Linked DNA regions of Homo sapiens: region 1 is linked to region 2. Evidence: promoter capture Hi-C in 16 types of primary human blood cells and fetal thymus (Javierre and others, 2016). All regions are on one chromosome and are shown on one strand. The core of a region is centred on a gene start or on the middle of the fragment in contact, and the rest is flanking DNA. Distances in the headings are between cores, read along the strand shown.

Evidence for each region. Contacts are between HindIII fragments. The CHiCAGO score rates a contact against its expected background, and 5 or more counts as called.
Region 1: a fragment that was not itself captured here is called in contact with the fragment with the promoter of HSF2BP in region 2 in 6 of 17 cell types (M0 macrophages, M1 macrophages, endothelial precursors and 3 more); the score reaches 9.7 in M0 macrophages.

The regions. Positions count from the first base shown.
Region 1 is chr21:43,153,946-43,158,632 of GRCh38, forward strand. It overlaps LOC107987300 (a long non-coding RNA gene), which reads right to left. Exons shown (of 3, transcript XR_007067885.1): 3 at 1-2,995. Among named protein-coding and RNA genes, the nearest start is that of CRYAA, 13 kb to the right of the region's middle. RefSeq lists enhancers at 74-744, 1,860-2,597, 2,598-3,333. The HindIII fragment of the contact is 1,258 bases long and covers 1,282-2,539 here.
Region 2 is chr21:43,657,367-43,661,912 of GRCh38, forward strand. It overlaps HSF2BP (heat shock transcription factor 2 binding protein), which reads right to left and starts at 2,122. Exons shown (of 9, transcript NM_007031.2): 1 at 2,020-2,122; 2 at 695-954. The coding sequence starts at 730. It overlaps RRP1B (ribosomal RNA processing 1B), which reads left to right and starts at 2,194. Exons shown (of 16, transcript NM_015056.3): 1 at 2,194-2,428. The coding sequence starts at 2,299. RefSeq lists a silencer at 2,227-2,416 and an enhancer at 3,137-3,186. The HindIII fragment of the contact is 5,137 bases long and covers 1-4,546 here.

The sequences.
Region 1 (4,687 bases), core at 661-3,160, 500 kb before region 2:
GGAGCCGAGGGCCGCGCGTGGCAATGTGGAGAGACATTTTGGTGGAGTCATGGGGCCACAGCCTGATTGGTGAGAACAGGAAGGGAAATTGCAGATGGGCCTGGGCCCCCTGGCTCCCGCATACTCCAGGACCAGGGCTGAGTCATCGTTCACCGTGTGTGACCAGGGCCCCGTGTGGCCGGCTGTCACTCGGTATCCAGTTACCCTGGGCAGACCACTGGCGGCACCCCCCAGCCAGAGGCCGCAGCAACACACACGCCTGCAGGCGACCAGGCCGGACTGCATGCCCCGTGGGGGAACTGAGGGCGTTTCAGTAACAGAGTGTTAGGGGACACGGGTTGGGTGGCTTGGAAAGGGCCTAAGGTGGGGTTTGTTTTAGATTGGGGTGGTGAGGGCGCAGGGGCCCGGTAGGATTCTCTAACAGGGCAGCAGCCACTCATTTAGCAACAGGAGAGGCGTCCAGCGTTTCGTGGGCTGTGCGGTGACCTTGCTTTTGTGCTTAGACACGATTACGGGTGGCCTTGCTTCATCTCCTTCTGCCATGGTCTCGTGGCCCCTGTCTCAGCTGGCGTTCCGGGAGGTTGTTTACGTCCAGGAGGAAAGCAAAAGCCTGGCCCTGAGCATCAGGGTGGCTCTGGACGCCAGGGCTGTACTGTGTTCTTTCTCGACACGAATGAGTTTCTGGACAGTTTTCCCGGCTAGTGCAGACCCACACTGACTGAAAACCGAAATCTTTGCACATGAGAAAAATAACTCCCATGGCAAGGCGTGGCGGCTCACACCTGTAATCTCAGTGCTTTGGGAGGCCAAGGCAGGAAGATCGCTTGAGGCCAGGAGTTCGAGGCCAGCCTGGGCAACATAAGGATACCCTGTCTGTACAAAAATAACAGATTAAAAAAAAAAAACAAAATAACACCCATGGTGCAGCCATTTCTTGGGGGGTTATGGTAATTTTAGTAGCAATCATCTAAGAAGAGGTTTTGTTTCCTCAACCCGAATGCGCTCCCTTTCCTCAAGGCTCTGAGAGCAGCAGGAAGGCTCACCTTCCTTGTTTAGTGAGGTGTTAACCTTCCTGGGTTCACCCCGGTGCAACGGTTTGTGTCATGCATCAACTTGGCTGGGCCACGGCGCCCGGTTTGGTCAAACGCCCATCTGGATGTTGTCGTGGACAGCTGTGTAGATGTGATTCGTATTTAGGTCAGTAGACTTTTAAAGCTGGTGACCTTCCGTCGTGTGGGTGGGTCTTGTCCGGTCAGCCAGAGGCCTTAAGTTCAAAGACTAAGCTTTCCTGAAGAAGAAGGAATTGCACCTCCCTCAAGACTGCAATACAGAAACCCTGCCTGGGTATCCAGCATGCCGCCCTGCAGAACTTGGACTTGAGACCTCAGTCAGCTCTTGCCTGAGTCTCCAGCCTGCCGCCTGCCCTGCAGATTTTGGAAGTGACAACCCCCACAATTGCCCGAGCCAATTTCTTCAAATAAATCTCTTTCCCTCCATCCATCCATTCATCCTTCTGTCCACCTATCCTATCGGCTCTGTTCTGTGGGTTCTGTTCCTCTGGGAACCCTGACAGATGCCCCTGGTTTGGTGGGTGTCATGGTCTCTGGTGCTGGTGCTACACCCTGTTGCTGCCCTGGCCAGAAGCCTGCAGGTGCCTCTGAGCCCACGGAAGCTAAGGGGGCCGTTTCCAAGGGGCCGCATTCCCCGCCTCTCTGCTCTTGGGGCTTCGGTCCATTCGGCCCGCGTGAGAGCTAGGAGTGCCACAGTCGACATCCTCAGTGGGATTGGTACCAGTTGCCTACACCAGCAACCCTCTCATGGAGGAGCCTTCGGTGGCTTTGCTCCTTACCCCACCTCCTGCCCCCTCACTCACTCCTGCTTCCCAGGTCACCTTCCAAAGGCCCCACACCTGCCTTCTCCTCTCCATCCCCCGAGGTGGGGAGCCAACACCCCCCCAGCAGCCCACCTCCCTGCTTTCCCTTGGAAGCACTGCTCTCCAGGTGTCCACAGGCAGCAGGGGTTGGGGGGCTCCTTAGCGCCTTCGCCTTGACCAGGCACGTGGAGTCATGGATCCAGATCCTGGCTCTGAGAGCGCCTGCTTCTGACTGCAGGCCTGGCCGACCCGTGTCATTGCCCCTCGAGGCAGGGCGGAACCTCTGGGTGGGGAAAGGTGGGCCGTGCTGCTCAGGAACCAAAGGCAAACCAGCCTTGTCCTCACGCCCAGAGCTGTGTCCAGCCTCCTCGGCGAGCCTGGGTTGATTCCAGGAGAGACTAAGCACCCACTGTGTCCCACGCCTTCAGCCACGTCGCCCGTCACCTGCGGCCTGAGTGTTCCCTTCCAGAGGGCGTGAAAAACAATTGTCTGCTGAGAGGTCTTTGAAGGGGAAACAAGTGCCCGGGGCAGGCCAGGACCGCAGACTGGATCTTGAGGACTGGCAGCGCAGTGTTTTGTGCAGAAAAGCTAAGGGAGATGTTACGTGCTCAGACCACACGAAGCGGGCAGCATCGTGGCGGGCTTAGCCCGGGCACTGCCTCTCGAAGCTTCCAGGAGCTTCCTGTAACTTTCCGGATGGTGCCGCAGCTGCTTCCCCGGCACCCGGGTCGCCGGGGTTCTGACTGCAGAGGGTTTCTGTGCGGGGTGCGGGGTCCACTCAGGTGAAGCACTCAGGACACCCCTGGTGTGGTGACAGCAGCAGCGTCACTGTCACGGGTGATGCGGCAACAGCTCCTCTCCCTCCTCCAGCACTGGCCTAGGAACTGTTCATTCTTCTGAACACAGCGAATGCCCAGGGCTTGAGCCCCCCTTGCCTGCCTCCAGTCATTTCTGGGTCAGGTGGGCTAAGAACAAACACACAGTGAGTGTCGAGTCTTGCCCGGTGACTGACTGCAGAAGCCTCTGTGTGGCTTCGCTCCCGGATGTCTGAAGGCCCCTCCCTGGGCTGCACGGCGGCTCCTGCGGGGCACTGCGGGAAGAGCCCCAGCTCTCCAGCTAAACCTGTGGGATGCGGCCATGGTGAGAAAAGGAAACGACCATCTTCACGCTGACACTGAGCAAAGAAAAGATAAAACTCATAGCAAATTTACCATGTTAGATTTACAAACGTTAGCAGTGGAATAAATCCAGAGGAAAGAACAAAAGAAAGATTCGAGACCAGCCTGGCCAGCAGGGTGAAACCCCATCTTTACTAAAAATACAAAAAGTAGCCGGGCATGGTGGCGAGCACCTGCAATCCCAGCTACTCAGGAGGCTGAGCCAGGAGAATTGCTTGAACCCGGGAGGTGGAGGTTGCAGTGAGCTGAGATTGTATCACTGCACTCCAGCCTGGGTGACAGAGGGAGACTCCATGTCAAAAAAAAAAAAAGAAGATATGAGTAGAAATGAATGAAATAAAAAACGACATACTGTAGAGAGGATCAACGAAGCCAAAATCTAATAAAATTGATAAACCGCCCCAATTAATCACGAAAGAGGTGGAGACAAATAAACAAGAGGGATGAGAAAAAAAAAAACAAAATGCCCACCACGCTCGTGAGGCCGGAGATCACCGAGGAATCCGAGCACCCGGGGGACGCTGCATGCCCGTGAGTGTGATACCTACACAAAGGAGGATTTTCTAAAAACCAGAAGTCCTATGGCCATTAAAAAATGGAATCAGTAGGAAAAAAAAAAGCCCCAAAGAGAAAGTAACATTCCTAGATGTTAACTGGTGAGTTTCTACCAACAAGTAAGAACAGTTTCAGTTTTATAGAAATTCTCCCAAAGAAAAGAAAATTAGAAAACATGCTTCCCTCACCTCCCGTTTTATTTGTTTATTTTTATTTGAGACAGGGTCTGGTTCTGTTGCCCAGGCTGGAGTGCAGTGGTGCAATCTCTGCTCACTGTAACCTCTGCCTGCTGGGCTCAAGTCATCGTCCCACCTCGGCCTCCTGAGTAGCTGGGATTACAGGTGCGTGCCATCACATCCATCTAATTTTTGTATTTTTTTGTAAAGGCAGGGTTTTGCCATGTTGCCTTGGCTGGTCTCAAGCTTCTGAGCTCAAGCCATCCACCCTCCTCAGCCTCCCAAAGCACTGGGATTACAGGGGTGAGCCGCTGCGCCCAGCCCACCCCCCGTTTTATAAGGTGGTTATAACGTTGGTATCAAAACCGGATAAGCACAATACAAGAGAGAGCTACAGGCCAGCTGCATTCAGAGCACAGGTGGAAAATCCTAAACGTAACAGAGCTGAACCCATCGTCCCATCTAGCGCTCCTGGGAGGCAAGCCTGGGCTGGGGTGCCCCCACCCATCCTGGTGAGAGCCTCGGGCTGAGCTGCCTTGATCCCAAGGGTTCTGCTTCCCCATGGTTCCCCGAAGGGCCCAGAAAGACACGTCAGAAAGTTGGGGACGGGGTGAGGGAGGCCATCATCCTTTGGAGCAGATTTGGCCACCTGGAGATGAGAAGAGCCAGTTCTGCAAAGTACCCTCCCTCCCTTCCTCACCTCCCTTTCACTTCCCTGGGGTGGTACCTCCCAACAAAACATCTGCACCTAGACGCTCCCCAGGCCCCCTCTTCTTGGAAACCTGGGCTAAGACAGTAACTAAGCTGGGTTGGTTCCAATCATGTGAGATTGGTTTAGCATTAGACAACTGATTCATAAAGTTCTTTGTATTAACATATCAAAAGAGGAAAAGACGTATGACCTT
Region 2 (4,546 bases), core at 872-3,371:
TCATACAAGAGCTCTATTCCTAAAAGTCAAAGAAAACGCCTGCAACTTTTTATCACTGCAGCACCAAACTAATCAGGAGGAAAAGGAAGTCATCTGGTTTCCTACTGGGTTTGCCAAGCCCTCCGCCCGTGATCTCATCTACTATTCACCCCAAGCCTCCAAGATTGTCTAGATGGAAATTAAGGCACGGGAGCTAGATGACTCTCAATGCAGCACAATTAATAACGGGTGGAAGCAGGATGTGAACACGGATCTGGCCCCAGTCCAAGCGCCTTCTCCATCGCATGCAATCAGTTACAGTTATAAAATCGATGGAGGGCAGATTCTCTCTAAGCCTGACGCTAAGTCCCGAAGCAGGGGGCCAGGGCCTTCGGAGGGGAACTGGGCTTCCACGGAGCAGAGAAGAGAGTGACCATCCATCCCACGCTCCCATGCCCGCTTTGGCGCCACTGAGTGCCCCCACCACGCGCAGCCTCACAGACCGGGTCCCCGCGTGGGTTTGGAGGCGAAGTCGCCTCCCGCCCCAGGTCTCCACCCCGCTCCGGCCCAGCCCACGCCGTTAGGGGAGGAAGTCTCCAGGCTTCCCCCAAGCACGCGACAGCGAGCCGTCTCCGAGCGCACGGGGCGAGGCCCTGAGGGGAGCGAATGGCGACGGTTCAAACACGCTGGCGTCGGCCAGGGCTTCCTCACTAACCCGGCAGGCCTCCTCAGCGGCGCCCGCTTCGCCCATGGCCGCTGCCGCCTCCGCTCCGTTCGCCTGAGCGTCGGCGCGCCCTCTGACCCCTCACGCCAGAAAGCGCGGGAACGAATCCACGCCGGGGGTCGGGAACGGAGAGCCGCCAGGCCCAAACCTCCCAGAATTTGCGCAGTATTCTCGGCCTAGAGAGCGAGGAGTGGCCTTGGCGAGGTCCCTCTTTGGCTCTTCTGGCTTAGCCGGGGTTTTAAACTTGTTATCTGCAAAGCAGAAGGAAAGTCAGCCCCTGATGTAAGTGTCAAGTAAAATAAATCGGATGGGTCCTTTCCTGTTTGGCGAGGAATGCTACACTAAGGGGGACTGCGTTCAAATGGGCAGTCTTTGCTGGAAACCTCGCCTCCGCGCGCCTTCCCTCGCTCGGATTCAGGCGCTTTTACGTTAAGGGTTGAATTTTTGTGTCAACAGGCACCTCGGGAGGTCGCCTAGACAACTGAGCGGAGCAACTGAGATAACCCCCGCTACGTGTGGAGTGACCTAGTCCATTAACTTGCCCCAGCACGCCCGCTGAGTCCGCAAAATATAGGATGGCCTCGGGTTTTAGATGAACCCAAAGCTAAGATTTCTTCCCTCTCTGGAATTAGCAAGCAGCCCGCCCTGCCCAACTCCCCTGGAAGCGCGCGTGCTCGCCAGGCCTCGGGACGCCTGCGCGGGCGCCCTTGCACTGGCACCAGGGCTCCGGGGTAGGGGCGCACCGATCTGCCCAAGCCTCTGCAGGCACTGGAGGAAGGCGAGCCCTCCACCCGCTCAACAGGCCCCAGTGCCGGCCTTTCCTTCCAGTCTCAACTCCACCCGGGGGCCCGGGGGCTCCACAGTTAAAAACTCCACGCCACGGAGATCGCAGGTAAGCTGCTGGCTCAACGAGGTGTGCTAAATGGGATTAAAGATCCTGGACCGTGGCCAGGCGCGGCGGCTCAAGCCTGTAATCCCAGCGATCAGGGAGGCCGCCGCGGGAGGATTGCTTGAGCCCAGGAGTTTGAGACCAGCTTGGGCAACATAGCGAGACACCGTCTCTACAAAAAAATAACAAATAGTGGGGCGTGATGGCGCGCGCCTGTAGTCTCAGCTACTTGGGCGGTCGAGATGGGAGGATCGATCGAGTCTGGGAGGTCGAGGCTGCAGTGAGCCAGGATCACCGCCAAGATCGCGCCACTGCATTCCAGCCTGGGCGACAGAGGGAGACCCTGTCTCAAAAACAAACAAAAAATCCTAGACCGTTTACAAACAGCCTTCCGTCTCTTCCTGGTCAAGTCCTAACCCTGGCTAACCTCGCCGTCTACAGCCTGAATTTTGGCAACCGAAAGGCAGCGCCGGCGCCACGTGCACACGGGCTGGGCCGCTCCGCCAGCTGCCAGGGCCACTGCCGCGCTCACTCCCAGAGCGCGCTGCGAGCCGCGGCGCCTTTGTGACGCCATCAGCCCGCGCGCCGCCGCCGCCGCCTTCTGTGCAGTCGCGGCCCGGGCGGACGGTGGCTGGCTGCTCCGCAGCGCTCGGCTGGCTGCAGCGGCACCGCGGGTTGCGCGGCCGGGGATGCTCCAGCGGGCGCGATGGCCCCCGCCATGCAGCCGGCCGAGATCCAATTTGCCCAGCGGCTGGCGTCCAGCGAGAAGGGCATCCGGGACCGAGCGGTGAAGAAGCTGCGCCAGTACATCAGCGTGAAGACGCAGAGGGAGACAGGTGGGCGCACGGCCGCGGTCAGCCGCGCCACATGGCGGGCCGGGGGCCGGGGCTGGGGCTAGGGCCAGGGCCCCGGCACGGAATGCGGCTTCCACGTGTTGTCGTGACACCCAGCGTGTGCTTCGGTTTCCGCGCTGCCGGAACCGCTTCTTGCTGTGTCTAGTGCCTTTTTACACTTAAGGAAACGGGTTGAGGGGGTTCCGTTACTTATGAAAGTCACAGTAAGCGGGGAAGCTGAGAAAAGACCCACATGGGTCCGATTCCCCAGCCGGCATCTCGAATCACTGGGCTGCCCTGATTTGCCCTGGTGTCCGGTCGGTGATTGCCGCCTTCCTTTGACCAGCACCTTTACGTGACGGGGCTGCAGGAGAGAAGACAGACAAAATCACTACCCTCGAGGATCTATTAGTAATAAAGCAAGGAGGCAAACAGGCAAATAAAGTAGACCTTGTGTAAGTGTAGTAAAGGAAATGAAAACCAGGTAGCAGGCCGGGCGCGGTGTCTCACGCATGTAATCCCAGCACTCTGGGAAGCCGAGGCGGGCGGATCACCTGAGGTCGGGAGTTCGAGACCAGCCGGACCAACATGGTGAAACCCCGGCTCTACTAAAAATACAGAATTAGCCGGGCATGGTGGCGCATGCCTGTAATCTCAGTACTCGGGAGGCTGAGGCAGGAGAATCGCTTGAACCTGGGAGGCGGAGGTTGCGGTGAGCCGAGATCGCAGCATTGCACTCCGGCCTGGGCAACAAGAGCGAAACTCCGTCTCAAAAAGAAAAGAAAAGAAAAAAGGAAAAAGAAAACCAGATAATAGCAAAAAGGGAAGGAGGTTGCTCTTCTTGATAGGCTGTTCTGGGAAGGCCTCTCTGGGCTGATAATCAGCTCAGATCTGAAGAGAAATGAGCGGAAACCGCCTATGCAGAGGCAGGAAAGAGCTTCACGTGCCCTAGGAGTGGTTTGAAAGACCAATAAGTTGGGGTTGGGGGGGCGAGTGTTATGAGATGAAGTTGGAGATGTAGGCAGTGGCCAGATCACACAGGGCTTTGTAGTTTAGATTTTAACGGCACTGCTGTTGGATGATTTCATTTACCTGATCCAAAAATACTTTCTATAAACTCTTGAGTGAGCCCATACAATATGAACTACAATGTGTAATAGAGGTTTTAAGATAAAGTTTTATTTAGTTACTGATGGTACTAATACATTTAGAATCTGCTTAAAAGAACAGATATTATCTCCCCCATCACTGACATTCTCAGTTTGTTTTATTTTTAAGAGAAATCACCAGACTACCCAAAAAAAGAAAATACACTTTCCTGGGAAGTCTGATAGAAAAAGGAATAAAGACCAAAATTCCTGACTTTGATTCTGTTAAGAATCTCCCCAAGAGATTTTGTTTAGTCTCACAGTTCCAGGTACCCCATATATGCTGGTGGTTTCTAAACCTAAATTGTTGTCCCAGCCCATTCCTACTTGCAGCTCGGATGTGCCTTGCTAGCCTGGCTTCTCTACCTGGCACCTCACACTCAGGATGCCAAAAAAAGTTCTGTTTTCTTTCCCCGAAATCCTGTTCTCTGCTGCTGCTCCACTGCCACCTGTTTTCTTTTCTTTTGGTTGCTGGTTCCCACCAGCCATTCAGATTCCAGCCGGACACACGGGATTGTCCTGGACTCCTCTGAATTCCTCATCCTCTTCCCCTGGCCCACATCCAGTGGGAGGACCCCCGTCCTCCCTCGTTCACCTCCTGATGACATAAATTCTTGACCGTGGGCTCTTTGTATCTCACCGAAACTTCTGCGCCCGCATATTCCCCAACTGGTCTCCTTAACTTCACTTGTGTCCCCAGGAATCTGTCCTCCACAGACCAGCCCAGGGTCATCTTCCTAAAACAAATCTGATCCCACATCACCAATATTTTTTGAAATTCAGTGTCTGCAAGTCATGATCTGTCCTCAGGTGCTCTTCCTGCCTAAGCCCCGTGTAACTGCTTCATGTTCCGTCAACAGAATCGGTGATGGTTCTTGGTGTACAGCACACAATTTCTCACCTCTCTGCCTTTGCTTCTCCTGTTCACTCTGCAAAGAATCCCACACCTTCTTCACTGCCAGCATTCAGTTCA